7 separate regions of the Homo sapiens genome follow, and all the other regions are linked to region 5. Evidence: promoter capture Hi-C in 16 types of primary human blood cells and fetal thymus (Javierre and others, 2016). All regions are on one chromosome and are shown on one strand. Each heading gives the region's core, a stretch centred on a gene start or on the middle of the fragment in contact. The rest is flanking DNA. Distances are from core to core; before and after follow the strand shown. Region 1 overlaps EIF2B3 (eukaryotic translation initiation factor 2B subunit gamma). Region 2 holds the start of LOC105378690 (a long non-coding RNA gene). Region 3 overlaps KIF2C (kinesin family member 2C). Region 4 overlaps ARMH1 (armadillo like helical domain containing 1). Region 5 holds the start of PRDX1 (peroxiredoxin 1). Region 6 holds the start of RPS8 (ribosomal protein S8). Region 7 holds the start of ARMH1 (armadillo like helical domain containing 1).

Region 1 (2,700 bases), core at 110-2,609, 660 kb after region 5:
CCTGCGAATGAGTTCCTGCTGATAAGATCAGACATCCTACATCCCATATGAACTTTTTCCCATTATTTTGGGGTCACTTAATTTTAATTACTTACGGCAAACCTGGGAAAGGTAATTAAATTGCAGTCAAGTGAGACTTGATTACCCTGCTGCTATTATGTCTTGGCTAAGTGGCAGGGTAGGAGCATAAAATTGTTCAGAAGGGAGTTTCTCATATTCGTTATGTGCTTGTCTCTGCCAGCAGTGGTGGGCTGCTGAGGCTTGAAAGCTTGCTGAGGCTTTCTGGACACCTGCCCAAGGTCTTCAGGGCTTGAGGGATGCTAATAGGACCACCTTGGAGAAGGTGTAGGCGAGACTATTCAGAGAAAGCTCCTGCCCATCTTTCTCATGTTCTGGCATTTTATATGACAGCTGATGCTCAGGAATCCACAATGTAGTAAACACTTCATTGTCAAAGCTTGAGTGTCAGCCCTGTATTCTGCATGTTTGGTCCCCTGGTCCCAAGCAACCTCTCCTGCATTTCCCCCTAATCCAAGGCACATGACCCAAGCAGCAGTCTAGAGTAGCATCTTCACATGCTGACAGGCTAGAAAGCCAGGTTCTCACCTAGGTTTTCCATGCTTTTTGCAGTTAGCAAGTGTAGACCTCAGAGCCAGGTAAGAAATTACTACTTCTCATCATTACCCTGAGTGTACCCTTCACCTGCACTCAACTGACTGACTGCCCTGCCCACTGGGTTCCTTACATTCCTACTTCCCTTTATTTCTAACATTCACTCTGCCTGAATTGCCTCTCTTTGGAGCTCTTTCCTGTAAAAATCCTACCCATCTTGCAAGATCCAATGCATATTCCAACTCTTCCATGCAGCTTTCTTAAGATGTCATAGCCGGCCAGGCATGGTGGCTTACGCCTGTAATCCCAACACTTTGGGAGGCCAAGGCGGGCCAATCACCTGAGGTCAGGAGTTTGAGACCATCCTGGCCAACATGGTGAAACCCCGTCTCTACTAAAAATACAAAAATTAGCTGGGCGTGGTGGTGTGTGCCTGTAATTCTAGCTACTCAGGAGGCTGAGGCAGGAGAATCGCTTAAACCGGGGAGGCAGAGGTTGCAGTGAGCCGAGGTTGCACTATTGGACTCCGGACTGGATGACAGAGCGAGACTCCATCTAAAAAAAAAAAAAAATTGTCATAGCCATAAACTATTTTCCCCACCTCTGTGCTCCCTATGCACCCATAACACTTTATTCATGCTCACATGGTACTGTGGCACTTACTGCATCTTTCTTCCCTCTTCAACTAGACTATAAATGCCTTCAATATAGTTTTGTTTGTTTTTTTTTTTTTGAGACAGAATCTCATTCTGTCACCCCGGCTGGAGTGCAATGGCACAATCTCAGCTAACTGCAACCTCCACCTGCCAGGTTTAAGCAGTTCTCCAGCCTCAGCCTCCCGAGTAGCTGGGACTACGGGCACGTGCTACCATGCCCAGCTAATTGTTTGTATTTTTAGTAGAGATGGGGTTTCTCCATGCTGGCCAGGCTGGTCTCAAATTCCTGACCTCATTAGCCGCCCACCTCCAGCCTCCCAAAGTGCTGAGATTACAGGCGTGAGCCACCATGCCTGGCTAAATATAGAAATATTTTTATATGTCTTTATATCCCCTAACTTCTTAATACTGCACTTTTTACGTAGTAGATATCTTATAAGCATTTACTAAATGAAAAATGGAGATCTCTGATTTAACCCCTCTACTATAACTGGCTAAATATCTGTTAAGAGATCCCTCTCTGCTTCTAGAAAAAAATATTGTACATGATTATAGAGAGGGAGAAAAAAATAAATAAATAAAAATTTTAAAAGTTGGTACCAATGATGGCCAGGCTCAGTGGCTCATGCCTGTAATCTCAGCATTTTGGGAAGCTGAGGCGGGTAGATCACCTGAGTCAGGAGTTCGAGACCAGCCTGACCAACATGGAGAAACCCCATACAAAATTACTCGGGCGTGGTGGCGCATGCCTGTAATCCCAGCTACTTGGTTGGCTGAGGCAGGAGAATCACTTGAACCCCGGAAGGTGGAGGTTGCAGTGAGCCCAGTTCGCGCCATTGCACTCCAGCCTGAGCAACAAGAGCAAAACTCCATCTTGGAAAAAAAAAAAAAGTTGGTACCAATGTTACAAATACAGAAGAAAATTTGTGGATGAGTGCTTCATTCCTTAAAGCTCACCAAATTGAAAAAACAAAACCACAGAAGGAAGCTTTATCTATAATAAAATGAAATAACCTACTCATACCTATGCACAGACTACAGAATATCTGCCAGATACAGTGAAATTTAGATTAAATCCAAAGAGAACACCAAGATTCAACATAAAGAGAAGAAGGAATGGGAACATGGGTGAACCAAAGAAAAGACATCAAACATCCTTTTTTCAAAATACCAAGGCATGCAGAACTGAAAGAAAAACATCAGGCCACATAGAAGGGAGAAAATCAGGCTGGCTTCACACATTTCTTTTTTTTTTTTTAAGATGGAGTCTCGCTCTGTTGCCCAGGCTGGAGTGCAGTGACAATTTCAGCTCACTGCAACCTCCACCTCCCAGGTTCAAGCAATTCTCCTGCCTCAGCCTCCCAAGTAGCTGGGATTATAGGCGTGCGCCACCACACCCAGCTAATTTTTGTATTTTTAGTAGAGACAGGGT
Region 2 (2,700 bases), core at 22-2,521, 800 kb after region 5:
CCTGCCCCGCAGCCTTGGCCTTCCTGGTTTGCCACAGGGGCTGTTACTCCTTTGATTCTACATCCTCCTCGAAGTGTGTGAGGTAGGCCATCTGAGCCGAATCGCGCGAGCCATAGAGAGTGTTCATGCTGTAGGAGCTGCCATGGAGGCACAGGGCTGCAGGCAGGAAAGGCGGGCGTGAGGCTGTGCTGGCGGCGCCTGCGCCCGGCTTCCCTCGTCCCACACTCACCTTTGGTAACATTGACTGTGTTGGCCGCCAAGATGTCCGCCTGAATGCTGTCTATTTTCATGTACAAGTCCTCAGCGTTGCTCTGAGGACAGGAGCAAGGGGGACCCGGCTGGGGTGCCAGGGCAGTCTGGACTTGGAGTTGGGCTTGGCAGAGGGATGTTGCAGGTGGGGGGCGGGTCGGCAGCCTGACCGAAAGGGCAGGAAAGGGAACAGGAAGGTGGCGGGTGGAGGAGCCTACGCCAGAGCAGTCCCTCCTGCAGCTGGTGGCCAGGTCCACTCTGCATGTGGCGCGCTCCAGGATGGGGACTGTCTGAAGGGGCATCACACTGTCCGAGCCGCCATCTGCTCATTGCGGCGGGGCAGGAAGGGCGCACTTACCAGGAAGAGCTGGTAGAGTTCCTCCCCCATGCACTTGCGCACGTGCTCCGCCACCAAGGGGAACATCTGCACGAAGCACTGCGCCGCGCGGGCGAGGCGGCGTGACTGCGGGGGCGACGGGGCTGCGGGTGCCGCCGCCCTTCCCGCCCCCTAACCAGCCGCCGCGCGCACCTCCAGCGTGAGGCTGGCCAGCCGCTGGCTGTTGCTGTGGTCCGTGTTGCCCATGGCGGCCATTAGGCCACGCACCACGCGCAGGTACAGCAGCTCCTCGGCGATGCTCATGTCGTTGCGCGCCAGGACCCTGGGCCGGGGGTTCGGGCTGGGGCGACGCCCTGGGGCTCACCCGGCGCACACCCCCGCCCACCCGGCGCACGGAGCGCTCCCGGGGCCCGCCGGCAGCGCCAAGCCAGGCTTGCTGCAGCTACCCACTAACCCCTGCCCGCTTACCCGATGGCCTTGGCGGCCGCGGCCTGCTGCAAAAACATCGGCAGGCTGGGGGTGAGCTGGAGAACCGAGGGGTCTGAGGAGGGGGCAGCCGTGAGGCAAGAGACCGCCCTCCCGTGGCCCAGGCAGCCCCATTTGAGCAGGTCCTTACCACTGAGGATCTTGGCCTGCAGTTTGGAGATCTCCTTGACCGACGGTATCAGCAGCGCCACGAGGCCCTTGAGCAGCGCCTGGCGCACATCGTAACCGACCAGGTCTTTGATCAACTCGATGGCTGCGGAAGGGCAGAGGTGCTGGAGAGAGGCCCCAGGCCCCTCCGCCACCGAGGAAGCAAAGAACCCCGTGAACCAAGTCGCCACTCGTCAGTGTCCTCCTCTTTTACTGATCAGCACTGTGCAGGGCGTGGGGGAGCTGGGAAGGCGAACCTCAGTTGAAGAGCAGGAGGAGGGGGCTGAAGGGGGAGGAGGAAGGGTTGGATGGTGAGCCCACCTGTCGAGGCGGCCTAGGATGTCAGCGCTGGAGGCTGAGACCCCAGAGAGGGGGGCCTTCGCCTTGGAGGAATCCAGGTTTCATGGAGGAGGGAAGGGCTGGGTCTTTACGGGAAGACAAGATGGAGAAAGACAAGGGGTGAGAGGGAGACAGAGAAAGTGGGTGGGAGACTTGTGGCAGGAAATGAGAAAGGGGAAGGAAGGTAGGCGGCAGTTTAGAGAAACTCTCCTTCTAACCATCATCGAGCCCTCTCCACCAGGCAGGGTGCCAGGCTTTCCATACAGCACCCGTGGAAGCTCACCAGAACCAGATGAGGTTCACTTCCCCATTTTACCTTTGCCGAAATTAGACACAGAGAGGTAAACCACTTTGCCTAAGTTACACAGCTAGGAAGTGATGGAAGCAGAAGGAGGGGAGGATTTGGTTAGGAAGGAGAAGGGGACTAGAATTTATGGAGGGCATTTCCTGCAGGGCTTTCCTGTAGATATTTTACAGGCAGTCATTCATTCAGTCCAGCATTCACTCAGTCTTTCGGCACGGCTGCATGTGAACGCCTATGGTGCCAGGCGCGGCATTGGGTGTTGAGGATACAGACTGAATTCATTCATTCGACCAACCCTCCTTAAGCGTGCACAAACAGGCAGCGATGATATGGTGACAGGTGCTGTGGAAGGAGTCAGTGATTGGGCTGTGGGAGCACAAGAGAAAATCGGCAAGGATTGAATGTTTTTGTAAAGAAGAGAAAGGAACCACAGAGCTAGAGGGGGCAGGAGGAGAAGGAGATGCTAAGATGATGGCACACCAGCATAAATGCTACCTTTTTTTTTTTTTTGAGACAGAGCCTCACTCTGTCGCCCAGGCTGGAGTGCAGTGGCGCGATCTCGGCTCACTGCAACCTCCGCCTCCTGGGTTCAAGCAATTCTCCTGCCTCAGCCTCCCGAGTAGGCTGGGATTACAGGCGCCCGCCACCACACCCGGCTAATTTTTTTTTTTTTTTTTTTTTGTATTTTTAGTAGAGATGGGGTTTCACCATCTTGGCCAGGCTGGTCTTGAACTTCTGACCTCGTGATCCACGCGCCTCGGCCTCCCAAAGTGCTGGGATAGCAGGCATGAGCCACTGGGCCCGGTGGGCCCAGCCAGTAAATGCTAGTATTTTTGTT
Region 3 (2,700 bases), core at 7-2,506, 780 kb after region 5:
GCTGGAGGGCAGTGGTGCGATCTTGGTTCAATGCAACCTCTGCCTCCTGGGTCCAAGCAATTCTCCTGCCTCAGCCTCCTGAGTAGCTGGGACTACAGGCATGCGCCACCACGCCCAGCTAATTTTTGTATTTCCAGTAGAGACAGGGTTTCACCATGTTGGCCAGGATGGTCTCAAACTCCTGGCCTCAGGTGATCTCCCCACCTCGGCCTCCTAAAGTGCTGGGATTACAGGTGTGAGCCACTGTGCCTGGCCCCCCCGAGGCTGAGGCGGGAGAATTGCTGGAATCCAGGAGGCGGAGGTTGCATTGAGCTGAGATTGAGCCACTGCCCTCCAGCCTGGGCAACAGAGCAAGACTCTGTCTCAAAAAACAAAAAACAAACAAACAAACAAAAAAACAACATAGAAAAAATTAAATTTCTATAGACAGGGGTACCCCTAAATTCAAACTTTACCAACTTTAAGTTCCACTAAGTATGAATAGCTATAAAACAAATAGTTACTCCTTAATAATGGTTTACCATCTAGATGGATATGGGTTTCTGATTTCCAAGCCAATGGTAGACGTCAGTGATGAGAATGAGGTGAAGAGGAGGGCAGACAGGCAGGCAAACAGTCGGGTACTCCACAGCAGATCTAGGCCACTTGGCTCCCCTGCTGATCTGCTGGGCAGTGAGGTCCTGCTGGGCACAGCCCCCCAAGCACCTCTTGATGGCTGACACGGAGGAGGAAACAAGTTCTAACTGTCTGGTGAGAGTCAAATGGGGGCCCTTTAGGATCTTATGGGCAGGGGCAAGTTCCTGACAGCTGCTACCTAACCCTAAGACTACCTACATTTTCTTCTGGGCCCAGAAACTTCCCCAGTTACGGCTTCCTGCCCATGCCTTACCTATTTCCTGTTGATGCCTGCAATGAGGTCACAATTCTAAGTTTACATCATCAGAGTCCTGCAATTCTCCAGGAACAACTCAAACTTCACCAGGATAGCTTTACAACAGGTTCAGACATATTAAATTTGTCCCAACTTTGTATTTCAAAATGTGACAGAGCTGAAGCATGTACTCTAGGGTGAGGGCTTTACTGCCTAGAGATGAAACCTGCAGGACTGGGTGCGGTGGCTCACGCCTGTAACCCCAGCACTTTGGGAGGCCGAGGTGGGCGGATTACCTGACCTCAGGAGTTCAAGGCCAGCCTGGGCAACACGGTGAAACCCCTGTCTCTACTAAAATACAAAAAGTTGGCTGGGTGTGGCAGCGTGCACCTGTAATCCCAGCTACTCAGGAGCCTGAGGCAGGAGAATGGCGTGAACCCAGGAGGCGGAGCTTGCAGTGAGCCGAGATCCCGCCACTGCACTCCAGCCTGGGCGACACAGCGAGACTCCGTCTCAAAAAAAAAAGAAAAAGAAAAAAGAAATCTGCAGTTATTTGCTGCCTATTCAAACATTTGTTAGGCACCACGAAGACAGCAGCCTACAGGGGGAAGGTAGTCAAAGATGAATTAAGACATATATAGGCCGGGCGTGGTGGCTCACGTCTGTAATCCCAGCACTTTGGGAGGCTGAGACAGGCAGATCACCTGAGGTCGGGAGTTCAAGACCAGCCTGACCAACATGGAAAAACCCCGTCTCTACTAAAAATAAAAAATTAGCCAGGTGTGATGCATGCCTGTAATCTCAGCTACTCGGGAGGCTGAGGCAGAAGAATCGCTTGAACCCGGGAGGCGGAGGTTGCAGTAAGCCAAGATAGCGCCATCACACTCCAGCCTGGGCAACAAGAGCGAAACACTGTCTCAAAAAAAAAAAAAAAAAAAAAAAAAAGACATATACAACCCCTGCCACCATGAGCTCAATTTCTAATGGGGATTATAAGTCATATGTACAAAGGAAATCAAAGCAGAATGAGATTTAAATAAAAAAAAAAAAAGGAGGATAGAATCACTAAATGCAAAAGCTGGCAAGCACTTCAGTAATCACACTTCTATCCACACTTCTGGGACAGCCACAGACTCTTGGTACATACCTCCCCCATTTCTAACCCCTAAACTACAGAGAGCATAAACAACAAAGAAAACCAGAGGTTTTTTTTTTTTTTTGAGATGGAGTTTCACTCTTGGTGCCCAGGCTGGAGTGCAGTGGCATGATCTCGGCTCACTGGAACCTCCGCCTCCCAGGTTCAAGTGATTCTCCTGCCTCAGCCTCCTGAGTAGCTGAGATTACAGGCATGCGCCACCATGTCCAGCTAATTTTGTATTTTTAGTAGAGACAGGGTTTTACCACGTTGGCCAGGCTGGTCTTGAGCTCCTGACCTCAGGTGATCCGTCCACCTCAGCCTCCCAAAGTGCTGGGATTACAGGCATGAGCCACCACGCCCGGCCTTTTTTAGACGGAATCTCACTCTGTCGCCCAGGCTGCTGGAGTGCAATGGCGCGATCTCAGCTCGCTGCAACCTCCACCTCCCGGGTTCAAGCGATTCTTCCGCCTCAGCCTCCTGAGTAGCTGGGACTACAGGTGCGCACCACCACATCCGGCTAAGTTTTTGGATTTTTAGTAGAGATGCAGGTTCACTATATTGGCCAGGCTGGTCTTGAACTCCTGACCTCATGATCCGCCCGCTTCAGCTTCCCAGAGTGCTGGGATTACAAGTGTGAGCCACCACGACCCGCGAAAACCAGAGTTTTAAGCCTTGCTCTGACAATCAACTG
Region 4 (2,700 bases), core at 112-2,611, 820 kb after region 5:
AGCCAGGATGGTCTTGATCTCCTGACCTCGTGATCCGACTGCCTCTGCCTCCCAAAGTGCTGGGATTACAGGCGTGAGCCACCGCGCCTGGCCTAATTTTTGTATTTTTAGTAGAGAGGGGGTTTTGCCATGTTGGCCAGGCTGGTCTCAAATTCTGACCTCAGGTGATCCACTCGCCTTGGCCTCCCAAAGTGCTGGGATTACAGGTGTGAACCACTGCGTCTGGCCTTCAATTTTATTTCTTGAGTTATTCATAATTCAATTTCTTTTTTTTTTTTTTGAGATGGAGTTTCACTTTTGTTGCCCAGGCTGGAGTGCAATGGTGTGATCTCAACTCACCACAACCTCTGCCTCCTGTGTTCAAGCGATTCTCCTGCCTTAGCATCCCAAGTAGCTGGGATTACAGGCCCCGACCACTGCACCAGGCTAATTTTTTTGTATTTTTAGTAGAGACGGGGTTTCTCCATGTTGGTCAGGCTGGTCTCAAACTCCTGACCTCAGGTGATCTTCCTGCCTTGGCCTCCCAAAATGCTGGGATTACAGGTGTGAGCCACCGCGCCCGGCCTCATAACTCAATTTCACAAAAGATATTGGGCCACAGCTCAACAAATCTTTGAATGGATGCCTGAAAGAGGATATATTTAAAAAGGAGAAGTATTTCTAAAACCACTACTGAAAAATGTGAGCAAATGATGAATCAGGAGAATCATAAATCTGGGTCTTCCAGTGGTGACATGGACAGGAGCACAAAAAGCTTCCTGTTCAACCAGTTTCATGATGTGTTTTTCCTATAGCAGTGGTGGGTTCTGCCACCATGTCATTCAGGCCCCTAGGGAGACACATCTTGTCACACACAGTACCCACCATAGCTTTCACAAATGAGTTCCTTGTATGTCCTGCCAGAGTTCGCAATAACCTGAAGTAGTTTGACAGATTCCTTCTTGGCCTCCTCCTTGATCTTCTCTAGCCCAAGTATTTCCAAGAGGGTTAGGACACCTCCAACCTCAAGAAATTCTATAAGGTACCGATTACTGTCCAGAGGGATAGAAAAGTAGAAATAAAACTCTTGTCAAGTTCCTTTGCACTGAGCTTTCAAAGAGATCCCAAGGTCCCCTCTTTACATACTTTGCCCTCCTATCCAGGAAATGTCCATAGGTAAAGTGATACGAGTGTGGAAATTCTTCCTTCCAGCAGGAAAGACTGGAATTACATACTAGGGACAGTTCTTGGTTTTGCCATTCCAGCATCTCTTCTTCTTCTTGTAATACCACCTCAACTGTCACTTGGGGAATCACCCCTCTGCCACTCATGGGCCATGTAGTTTTGGTGGGGTGAGGAGGTGACAGGGTATGTCACCCTTCTGACTGCAGAAGTTCGTTTGGGGCTGGGCATGGGACCTAAATTGGTCCAATGAGGCTCAAAGCCTGGGACTTTCTTGGGAAGCTGTGGAAAGGATCTGCTCTGTTTTTGGTATGTCTAGAGCTCCTGAGGACCATGGCATACAGAGGTCTATGAACACAGAGGAGAAGAGACAGAAATGGGGGAAAAGACAGAGAAGGAGGCCAAGTACTGATGACATTGTTTGAGCCCTGGATCTAGTTAGGGCTGAAATATGTATTTCTACCCTCTGGGTTTTTCCAGTTAAGTGAGCCACTAATTTTCCTTTTTCTGAGTCCAATATGAGTTGGTTTTCTGTAATTCACAACCGAGAGGGTGCTGACTAGTGAAGCGCCACTGGAGAGAAAGGGATGGGGGAGCAACTAGAGCAGGAGCCCGGTGGACATTACCTCTGGGCCCATCCCAAGAGCTACAAGGAACCCACTGCTAACAGGAATCCGTGGCCCTGGGTGGTGTGAATGCCAAAGACATCATGAGCCTGAGATGCCACTGAGACCCCCAGAATCACGCTAGAACAGAACTCACCTGCTTACAGCTGATAAGAAGATGCCAATGGACCTGAGAAGCTTTTCTAAACATGAGTCAGTCATATAGCTGTATGACACGTTAAAGAGTGAGTTTCAGGGTGGTTTTTCACACAGAAGCCAGAGCCCGTGCCTGATCTCTGGTACCACCCCGGGCCCAGGGTGGCCAAGTAGCTGAACTGTGCCTCTTTACCCTGAGAGGAGCTACCAGCGGAAGGGGAAGTGGCAGTACACACAGGGTTGGGGGAAGAGGGTGCTGGCTGTTCACTGTTCTCCAGGAAGCTCCTCTGTGGCAGTTCAGCCACCTTGGCTCTTACAGGCTTTCTAGGGAACAAGGAGGCTCTGATGAATTAAGGGTCCCTGGAGAAGGCTGGGGGTCAATATCCCAAAGCTCTCTAAGCCATGCCCATTGCATCCTTGGTGTCAGCATAGTTCATGACTTTGTGCCTCATTCTTAGATTTCCCTAAAAAGAACCAGCTTCATCATTAATTCTCAATTTTTGTACTTGTTCAAAGTTTTACACTGGAGGTCACTATCCTTATGAAGAATTGGCTTCCTAATAAGAATAATAGGAGATGGTGGAAAAATTAAACTCTGATTTAAAACAACCTCAGTATTTAATGTTATTTTTTAATGTGAGTCTTTGCAAAAAGCCTCATTATAATAAAGTACCCAAAGCACGCATCAGCTCAGATACAAGGTATGAAATCAAGCCACAACAGAAAAGGAACCAGTCAACAATTACTAGGCTCATAACACATCAGAGGCTCTTAGAAC
Region 5 (2,700 bases), core at 120-2,619:
TGACCTTATGATCCGCCCTCCTAGGTGGCCTAAATCTACATTTTTACATAAGATAAGGTGAATGTTTGAAGAAAAAGGGAATGGAGGAAGAAAACAATTATGTGGTGGACTCAGGGTAATCTAGTAGTAAGGTACTACTAGAAAGGTAGAAAGTAGTCTAGTAGAAAGGTAATCTAGTAGTGAACATTTATGGAATTTGTGGAATAGAGGCCAGGTGCGGTGGCTCGCGCTTACATTCCTAGCACTTTGGGAGGCCAAGGCGGGCGGATCACCTGAGGTCAGGCGTTGGAGACCAGCCTAGCCAACATGATGAAACCTCGTCTCTACTAAAAATACAAAAAATTAGCTGGGCGTGGTGGTGCGTGCTTGTAGTCCCAGACACTCCGGAGGTGAGGCGGGAGAATCGCTTGAGCCCGGGAGGTGGAGGTTGCAGTAAGCCAACACCGTGCCACTGCACTACAGCCTGGGCGACAGGGTGAGTGAGACTCCGTCTCAAAAAAATGTGGAATAGAACAAACTTTAGTTTTAGGAACTAGACTTTATATTGTAGATCTAGTTGCAATTGACACGTCCTTGTTTTATGGGAGGCTACATACTTTAAAGGTTTCCAGGGGAGCAAATAATTAATTATGATTTTGTGTATGTGTGTTTGTGGGGGGTAGTCATCAGGAAATGTCTGAGGCCTTTTGCCTTACCGTGTGGGTCTGGCTAATGTGTAATGTTTTGACTCAAGATTGTAAAGTCAAATTATTCATCCGGGGAGAGGATGGTCGTGTAACTGAATCAGCCTCCCAAGATGAACTTTCCCTCTGGCGTAAGTTTAGGAGTCCTGATATTTTATTTTCCTTTACAACAGAAAGCAGCAACCCTGTAATTAAAGAGAACAATGAAGGAAGCTATCTAAGCCATGAGGGTTACTGAGGATCTGCGCTGGGGTTAAGGCTGCGAACTTAAGAAATATTTGGATAGACAGTTCTCATGGCTTGGTGTGGTTAGACGTGGTCCTCCGTGGGCAGCAGCTAAGACGCTTACTCCAGTTTGGGCATTGAGGGCACAGTGCGTAGTGGTCCTGGAAGTAAAGAGAATCCTGGTTTTCCGCAGAGATCTAGGATTAACCTAAGCGTTCGGGTTCGGGAGCGGCCACAAGGGCGCCTCACTCCAACCTCAGCCATCCGCAACAGGGTGGGGTATTAGTATTTTTCCGCACCCGCCCCAACGAGGGAAAGCGCCGAGTCATTCCGGCGGGGCGCGCCGGGCGGGGCTCGGGCCACATCCCCCTCCTCTCTCTCCTCCTCCGGCACCCCCGTCCGTTCCGACTCTCGCGAGATCCCTACTGGCTATAAAGGCAGCGCCCCGGAGAGCTCTTGCGCGTCTTGTTCTTGCCTGGTGTCGGTGGTTAGTTTCTGCGACTTGTGTTGGGACTGGTGAGTGTGGGCAGTGCGGCCCCTGCGGAGTGAGGCGCGGCGCGCCCTTCTTGCCTGTTGCCTCTTCCTCCTCCTGTCCGGGGCCCGCCCGCGCTCGGGTGGGGGTGCTGTGATGCGTGAGGCAGCCGGGGGAGGCCCGGAGTCCGAGACTGCTTGAGCGCTGCGCACACCCCTCTCGTGGGCCCCCCACGTAGGTGCGGGAACCTGGTTGAACCCCAAGGCAAGCGTGGACTCGAGTCGAGTCTTCCCCCGGCAACTCGAGCACGTGGCGCGGCGTCTGGGCGGGCTGGTGGTGGGGGTCTCCGAGACTAGCCTCCTGCCGGACGGGGTGGGTTCGGGAAGCTTCTGGAATGGACCTGTATCCAGACTCGTGGCTGTAGAAGACAGCCTCTATGTATTTGGCTGTTCCGGGTCCTGAGCCTTGACTAGCTGCGGAGCTTCGGGTACCCTTTCCCCGTCTTTATTTTCCTGTACGTGGAATGGAGTTAGCGATGAGCCCAAATGTCCCCGCTGAAGCACTCTCTCTGCTGGTGCTTTCTCCAGTGCTGGGGAGGGACAGGGGGCACCTGAAGTGGGGTTTAGGGATGTGGCCCTCTACGCTGGGCAGATCCCCTGAAGGGGCCCGGTGGCGGCCTGAATCCCAGCAGCCTTTACCCCGAATTGGTTGGGTTTTGTACTTGGGGGCCACTTGGGAAAGAAGGATTGGACGAGAAGGCCATTTGGGGGCACCAAGTTGCAGCATGCCTTAGTTTTTGGTTTTTGTTTTTTGTCGTTAAAGGTGTTAAGGACTTTTTAAAAAACAGTTAAAAGTTTGCTAAGATCCATGCTTACAAAATTTCTTTTGCTTGTGGTATTGTGAACTAAGAACTTTGGGACTTGGAAAAGCTTTCAGACCGCGGCTTAGTGGGTTAAATCTCTGTTTTTTGAGCTAGAGTCTCGCTCTGTCGGCCAGGCTGGAGTGCAGTGGCGCGGTCTCGGCTTACTGCAACCCCTGTCTCCCGAATTCAAGCAATTCTTCTGCCTCAGCCTTAGGAGTAGCTGGGATTACAGGCTTGTGCCACCAAGCCCCGGCTAATTTTTGTATTTTTTTTTTTTTTTTTTTTTTGAGACGGAGTCTCGCTCTGTCGCCCAGGCTGGAGTGCAGTGGCTGGATCTCGGCTCACTGCAGCCTCCGCCTCCCGGGTTCACGCCATTCTCCTGCCTCAGCCTCCCGAGTAGCTGGGACTGCAGGCGCGTGCCACCACCCCCGGCTAATTTTTTGTATTTTTGTTAGAGA
Region 6 (2,700 bases), core at 146-2,645, 750 kb after region 5:
GCCCAGGCTGGACTCGAACTCCTGACCTCAGGTGATCCGCCCGCCTCGGCCTCCCAACGTGCTGGGCTTATAGGCGTGAGCCACCGCGCCAGGCCCACTTGGTGAATCTTAAGACCGTTTAGGTGCGTTTTCCCACCCACTCCCAAAGGGCCTCACTCACACTCTGAGCCCCAGGAGAAATTCCCCACGTCCAACCTCAGGGCACGGTATTTCTTGTTACCTCCCCGCACACGGACTGTGTGGATGCGGCGGGGGCCAATCTGGAAAACACAAGGTTACAGGAACTAGGTTACCAAGGAGAGCAAGGCAAGTGAGGGAGAGGAACCTGGGCCGGGAGGAGGCAACAGTCAGTGTAACTATGACAAGTCCTTGCATTGGCAAGTGGCACACAGGTGACCAAGACGGCCACAACCACGCCTAAGGATTCTTTTTCATCACCCTACTTGCCTCCAAGAGGAAAGCCTGACCCCAAATGCTGAAAATTAAGCCTCTGTAAAAAAAACAAGACTAGGCTTCTGACTATGACGCGAGGCGCCACCCTCTCCAGAAGCTCAAGTCCCCACACAGTATCCTTCTCTCTGAAATCCTAAGCTCCAGGTTTGGGGGCCTGAGGGAGCATTCCCTCTTTGGTACTTACTTATCCAACAGCTAAAGGGGGACAGGACACCCAGGCCCTACTACAGAGAAATCAGAGCCCAAGAAAGAACGCACAACTGTCACACGGAAAGACCCGAGCACGCTGGAGAGCGGGGGAAGGCGACCTCCCAGGCGGACAGGCCCACGCTCGCACCCACCTTGGTGTTGGCAGCTGGGCGCCCCAACTCATACTTCCGCTTCTTGTGGTAGGGCTTTCTCTTGCCCCCGGTTTTGCGGCGCTTGTGCCAGTTGTCCCGAGAGATGCCTGCATGTGGAAGCGGGGAAGGAAGCTTGAGCCACTGTGACTCGGTGCTAGCGACTCGCCAGCTCCCGGAGACCCCCGCGCCGGGCCGGTCGCACGCTCAGCTCTCCAAGGTTGGCTTCCCCACCGCGCACTCGGGAGTATGCAGCATTACCGAGTTGTCATCATACACGTGCGGCCAGGCCGGGGCCTCCTCCTCGCGGCAGCCATGTTGGCGCCGCTCGGAGCCCGCAGCCCGCGGCCCGGAACCCGGAGCCCAGAGCCTTCGCAGCCCCCAGAGACGGGCTGGGCGGCCGAAACCCGAGGGCCACCACTCCTCGTGGCTGTCCCTGGCCGGGGGTCGGGGCGTCTGGACTCCTCAGTAGGCTGTGAAGCAGGATGGGGCCTGATTGAGCTCAACCTCCCTTCACCCGCCTCAATGCAGAGCGACACTCACCCATCGCTCGGCGCTGGCTGGAAAGAGAAACCGCAAAGATTCACGGTTCGGTTTGTAAAACGCTGCCCCGCCCCTTTACTTTACGTTGTTTCTGAGCGCCGAAACAACGTCGGGCGACGAGACTTACGTGTCAGCTGCCGCGCCTAGGGCCACGAGCCTAGGAGGGTCTCGCAGGCTGCTGACCTCTGCCGACCCCCGGCGACTCGCCTCCGACCCTGGGCTGGGGGAAGGGGGTCTGCGGCGTCGGCAGATCTGGGCGTGTTTAGACTAGTTTCAGAGGCTGCTGCGGTCGTTTAGGATGAGATGTGGGTGCGGCTGCGTTGAAAAAGAGTGGAAGGCAATGGAATTGGAAACGAGTGTGGACTTGGGTTTTGTTTTGAAGGGTTTGGTGGTAGATTGGACATGGGGATTGAGGGAGAGGGCGGTGTCAAGGATTCCTAAGATTGTCACTTGATCAATCGGATAAATATTGGGGCCATTTACTGAGATGGGGTAGGCTAAGGTAGGAGCTGTTCTGGACACGTTCATTTTGAGATCTTGCTAAGTCATGTTGAGTGGGACTAACAGATAGGAAGCTGAATATTAATGACTGGTCATCCTTATAAGGGATCTGCACCGAAGATGTTATTTTGGGAATCGTTGGCTTATAAATGGTAATTAAAGCCACCAGAATGAACGGAACTTAGGAAGAGAGTATAAAGGAGGGATCAGCTAACTTTTCTGAGCTAGAAGGATATCTATTTTTTAATTAAAAAAAATTTTTAGGCCTGGCGCGGTGGCTCACGCCTGTAATCTCAGCACTTTTGGGAGGCGGAGGCGGGCGGATCACGAGGTCAGGAGTTCGAGACCAGCCTGGCCAACATGGTGAAACCGCGTGTCTACTAAAAAAATACAAAATTTAGTTGAGCATGGTGACGCACACCTGTAATCCCAGCTACTCAGGGAGGCTGAGGCAGGAGAATCGCTTGAACCAGGGAGCTGGAGGTTGCAGTGAGCCGAGATCGCACCACTGCACTCCAGTCTGGCGACAGAGCGAAACTCCGTCTCAAAACAAAACAAACAAACAAAACAAAATTAGCCGGGCGTGGTGGCGGGCGCCTGTAATTCCAGCAACTCCGTCTGGAGGCTGAAGAAGGAGAATCACTTGAACCGGGAGGTGGAGGTTCCAGTGAGCCGAGATGGCACCAATGCACTCACTCCAGCCTGGGTGATGGAGTAAAACTCTGTCTCAAAAAAATAAAATACACAAGTTATTATTGATTATAGTCACCCTGTTTTGCTATCAAATAGTAGGTCTTATTTATGATGATATTTTATTTTTGTACCCATTAGCCATCCCCACCATCCCCACTTCCCCCTACCCTCC
Region 7 (2,700 bases), core at 158-2,657, 850 kb after region 5:
TAAAACCCAAACCTAGATCAATTAAACTAACCTCTGTGTACCCACCACTAGGTGGCTGAATGTTGTTGAGGGAAAAATGCATATTACACAACCTTGCAGACTGCTGCTTCCGAAAATTAATGGTCACTAACCTCGACAGGGCCATGATAACTGCCCAGAAATCTGTTTGCTACCTTAGTCATCTCACTGCCACTCTCCAGTGCTGCTATTTTAATCTTTCTCTGCTCTTTTCAATCTCGCACACCATCTCCAATCCCACTCTCACTGGCTGATATAATGTTCTTATTTGACAGAGAAAATGGAAACCATCGAAGAATTCCCTCAGCTTCCTGTCACCAAACCCACCAATTAACCTCAACGTAATGCTTCCCTTCTGCCACAAAACAAATGTTCCTCCACCCTTCTAAGTGAATTTCTTCACCAACACTTTGGTGAAGTCTTTTTTTCAAGGGCACCATTCTCAGTTATCTTCTTTCCCTTATAGTTTTATCTTTTTCCCCTTTGCTGGATCCACATCAACATTTCTTCCATCCGAATAAAAACCTGTGTTTCCTGCTGGATATTGCCTTCTTTTTTCTTCTCCTAAATAGCCAAGCTTTCTGAAAATGTATCTTACATGAATCTTCACTTCCTCAATCCCATCTGCTTCTCAAACCACTGTAATTTGACCTCTGCTCCCATCACTCCACTGAAACTGCACTTGTAAAGGTCACCAACAACTTCCTTGTTTCTAAATCCAGTGGATTCTTTCAGGCCTTATTTTACTTGATTAGTCATAAGCCTTCAACACTTTCCTTCCTTGGCTTCTGAAACACCACATACTACTACTGATCTTCTTACCATTTTGGACACTTCATCTTGATTACCTTTGCAGGTTCGTCCTCCTTTGCCAGACCCTCAAACTTGGGTGTTTCTCAGGGCTCTGTCCTAGGTCTCTTCTGACTCTACACTTACTCCCTGGGCAAGCTCAACAAATCTATTGGTGTGGCTGGCATCTATAAGGCCCCATAGACTCCCACACTGCAACTTCCAGTTAGACTTATCTGGCGAACTCCAGTTAGGCATATCCAATGGCCTTCTGGATACCTCCACTTGGATGTTCCATTGGCACCCCAAGCTCACCGTGCCCAGAACTGACCCTCTCCTAAAAACCCCTGCTTCCTCTCCTTCCTGTTTGCCCAAACCAGGAATCTAGAAGTCATCCTTCATTTCCCTTACTTCCCCCACACCCAATTAGTAACCAAGTCCATTTTTTTCTAGCTATAAGTGTCTAAGGAATTCATCCTGCCCTTTCCATTTCAGCTGCCACTCCATGCTTTGTGCCACCATAATCCTTCCCCACTACTGAAACAACCTCCTAACTGGTCTCCCTCCTTCTCCCAATCCTCAATCCAGTTCCTGCACTAATGTTTCTTTTTTTTTGAGACAGAGTCGCGCTCTGTCACCCAGGCTGGAGTGCAGTGGAGCAATCTCGGCTCACTGCCACCTCTACCTCCCAGGTTCAAGCCATTCTCCTGCCTCAGCCTCCCAAGTAGCTGGGATTACAGGTGTGCACCACCATGCCCGGCTAATTTTTGTATTTTTAGTAGAGATGGGGTTTCGCCATGTTGGCCAGGCTGGTCTCGAACTCCTGACCTGAAGTGATACGCCCGCCTCAGCCTCCCAAAGTGCTGGGATTACAGGGGTGAGACACCACACTGGGCTCTTTGTTTTGTTTTTTGAGACAGGGTCTCACTCTGTCACCCAGGCTGGAGTGCAGTGGCACAATCATGGCTTACTGCAGCTTTGACCTCCTGACTCAAGTGATCCTCCCACCTCAGCTTTCCAAGTAGCTGGGACTTCAGGCATGCGCTACCATGCCTGGCTAATTTTTAAAATTTTAATTTTGTAGAGATGAAGGTCTCACTATGTTGCCCAGGCTGGTCTTGAACTCCTTCAAGCCATTCTCCCGTCTTGGCCTTCCAAAGTGCTGGGATTACGAGTTTGAGCCACCGCGCCTGGCATGCAAAGAGTCTTTCCCCCTCCCTATCTCTAAAAGTCTTTCAAGGCCCAGCTCAAGAGCCAACCCCACTGCCATAAATGCCCCTTCTCTGATTCTGAGCTCCTCAAATCCTTACTCTTCTGTAGTATTTATCTCACACGCAGAATCAGAGTTGCTTCATGCATGGTTTCTCTCCCTCTCCCGTTAAGACATGGGAGAGGGAGGGCCAAAAGCTTGATTCTCACTAGGGCCTAAGGAACCTTATTTAGCCCACCCAGTCTCTGGCACATAGTATGTAAATATGCTGGCACATAGTATGTAAATATAGATAAATGCAAGAAAGTTGCACTCCCAGCTCCTCGGTGGGCCCTATCAACAGGGCATTCTCTAAAGTCATCAACTGAAGACTGCTTCCCATCCACCCATCCATCCATCCATCCATCCATCCATCCAGAATATGCCTCAACCCCACTGGGTGGAGGTTGGGTCGGCACGCGCCCCCTAGGCCGTTTTGTACGGTTTTATACCTCCAGCCCTCGCAGTTGCGGCTGGTAGAGGATGGCAGAGGTAGGTAGACGATGCAAGTCAAAGGGCACACTCTTCCGCCGCGTAGGATAGGACTCTGTTCGGACGAGTGACCCTGCCCATTCCCAGAATACAGCAACTCTTCAGCCGCCTCTCACCTACATGAGAGGGTGGGGACTCTTCCTGACCGGCGC

The links. The method cuts DNA at HindIII sites, captures the fragments that hold promoters and counts their contacts. A CHiCAGO score of 5 or more calls a contact.
Region 1: a contact is called between a fragment that was not itself captured here and the fragment with the promoter of PRDX1 in region 5, in 1 of 17 cell types (naive CD4 T cells). The highest score is 5.8, in naive CD4 T cells.
Region 2: a contact is called between a fragment that was not itself captured here and the fragment with the promoter of PRDX1 in region 5, in 3 of 17 cell types (M0 macrophages, activated CD4 T cells and erythroblasts). The highest score is 8.1, in M0 macrophages.
Region 3: a fragment that was not itself captured here is called in contact with the fragment with the promoter of PRDX1 in region 5 in 5 of 17 cell types (activated CD4 T cells, naive CD8 T cells, naive CD4 T cells and 2 more); the score reaches 8.2 in activated CD4 T cells.
Region 4: a fragment that was not itself captured here is called in contact with the fragment with the promoter of PRDX1 in region 5 in 3 of 17 cell types (activated CD4 T cells, total CD4 T cells and total B cells); the score reaches 7.6 in activated CD4 T cells.
Region 6: a contact is called between the fragment with the promoter of RPS8 here and the fragment with the promoter of PRDX1 in region 5, in 2 of 17 cell types (non-activated CD4 T cells and total CD4 T cells). The highest score is 7.2, in non-activated CD4 T cells.
Region 7: a contact is called between a fragment that was not itself captured here and the fragment with the promoter of PRDX1 in region 5, in 1 of 17 cell types (M0 macrophages). The highest score is 8.5, in M0 macrophages.

Annotation. Positions count from the first base shown.
Region 1 is chr1:44,865,043-44,867,742 of GRCh38, reverse strand. All of the region lies in intron 10 of EIF2B3 (eukaryotic translation initiation factor 2B subunit gamma), which reads left to right. Among named protein-coding and RNA genes, the nearest start is that of PTCH2, 23 kb to the right of the region's middle. The HindIII fragment of the contact is 1,799 bases long and covers 460-2,258 here.
Region 2 is chr1:44,722,747-44,725,446 of GRCh38, reverse strand. ARMH1 (armadillo like helical domain containing 1) reads right to left here. Exons shown (of 12, transcript NM_001145636.2): 7 at 1,203-1,325; 8 at 1,055-1,127; 9 at 779-908; 10 at 608-685; 11 at 230-311; 12 at 1-156. The coding sequence ends at 44. It overlaps LOC105378690 (a long non-coding RNA gene), which reads left to right and starts at 1,328. Exons shown (of 5, transcript XR_007066059.1): 1 at 1,328-1,412. RefSeq lists a silencer at 1,716-2,010. The HindIII fragment of the contact is 4,387 bases long and covers 1-2,700 here.
Region 3 is chr1:44,744,581-44,747,280 of GRCh38, reverse strand. All of the region lies in intron 2 of KIF2C (kinesin family member 2C), which reads right to left. Among named protein-coding and RNA genes, the nearest start is that of KIF2C, 6.1 kb to the right of the region's middle. The HindIII fragment of the contact is 4,417 bases long and covers 1-2,700 here.
Region 4 is chr1:44,696,394-44,699,093 of GRCh38, reverse strand. It overlaps ARMH1 (armadillo like helical domain containing 1), which reads right to left. Exons shown (of 12, transcript NM_001145636.2): 3 at 1,924-1,992; 4 at 865-1,031. The region is part of intron 4 of LOC105378690 (a long non-coding RNA gene); the gene reads left to right. Among named protein-coding and RNA genes, the nearest start is that of ARMH1, 23 kb to the right of the region's middle. The HindIII fragment of the contact is 1,210 bases long and covers 757-1,966 here.
Region 5 is chr1:45,520,553-45,523,252 of GRCh38, reverse strand. It overlaps PRDX1 (peroxiredoxin 1), which reads left to right and starts at 1,369. Exons shown (of 6, transcript NM_181697.3): 1 at 1,369-1,424. RefSeq lists an enhancer at 891-970 and a silencer at 2,013-2,175. The HindIII fragment of the contact is 8,348 bases long and covers 1-1,768 here.
Region 6 is chr1:44,774,235-44,776,934 of GRCh38, reverse strand. It overlaps RPS8 (ribosomal protein S8), which reads right to left and starts at 1,395. Exons shown (of 6, transcript NM_001012.2): 1 at 1,335-1,395; 2 at 795-901; 3 at 161-260. The coding sequence starts at 1,338. SNORD55 (small nucleolar RNA, C/D box 55) reads right to left here and starts at 1,070; the gene lies at 997-1,070. SNORD46 (small nucleolar RNA, C/D box 46) reads right to left here and starts at 443; the gene lies at 346-443. RefSeq lists an enhancer at 772-1,061 and a silencer at 1,142-1,351. The HindIII fragment of the contact is 3,101 bases long and covers 929-2,700 here.
Region 7 is chr1:44,674,682-44,677,381 of GRCh38, reverse strand. It overlaps ARMH1 (armadillo like helical domain containing 1), which reads right to left and starts at 2,668. Exons shown (of 12, transcript NM_001145636.2): 1 at 2,509-2,668. The HindIII fragment of the contact is 1,619 bases long and covers 598-2,216 here.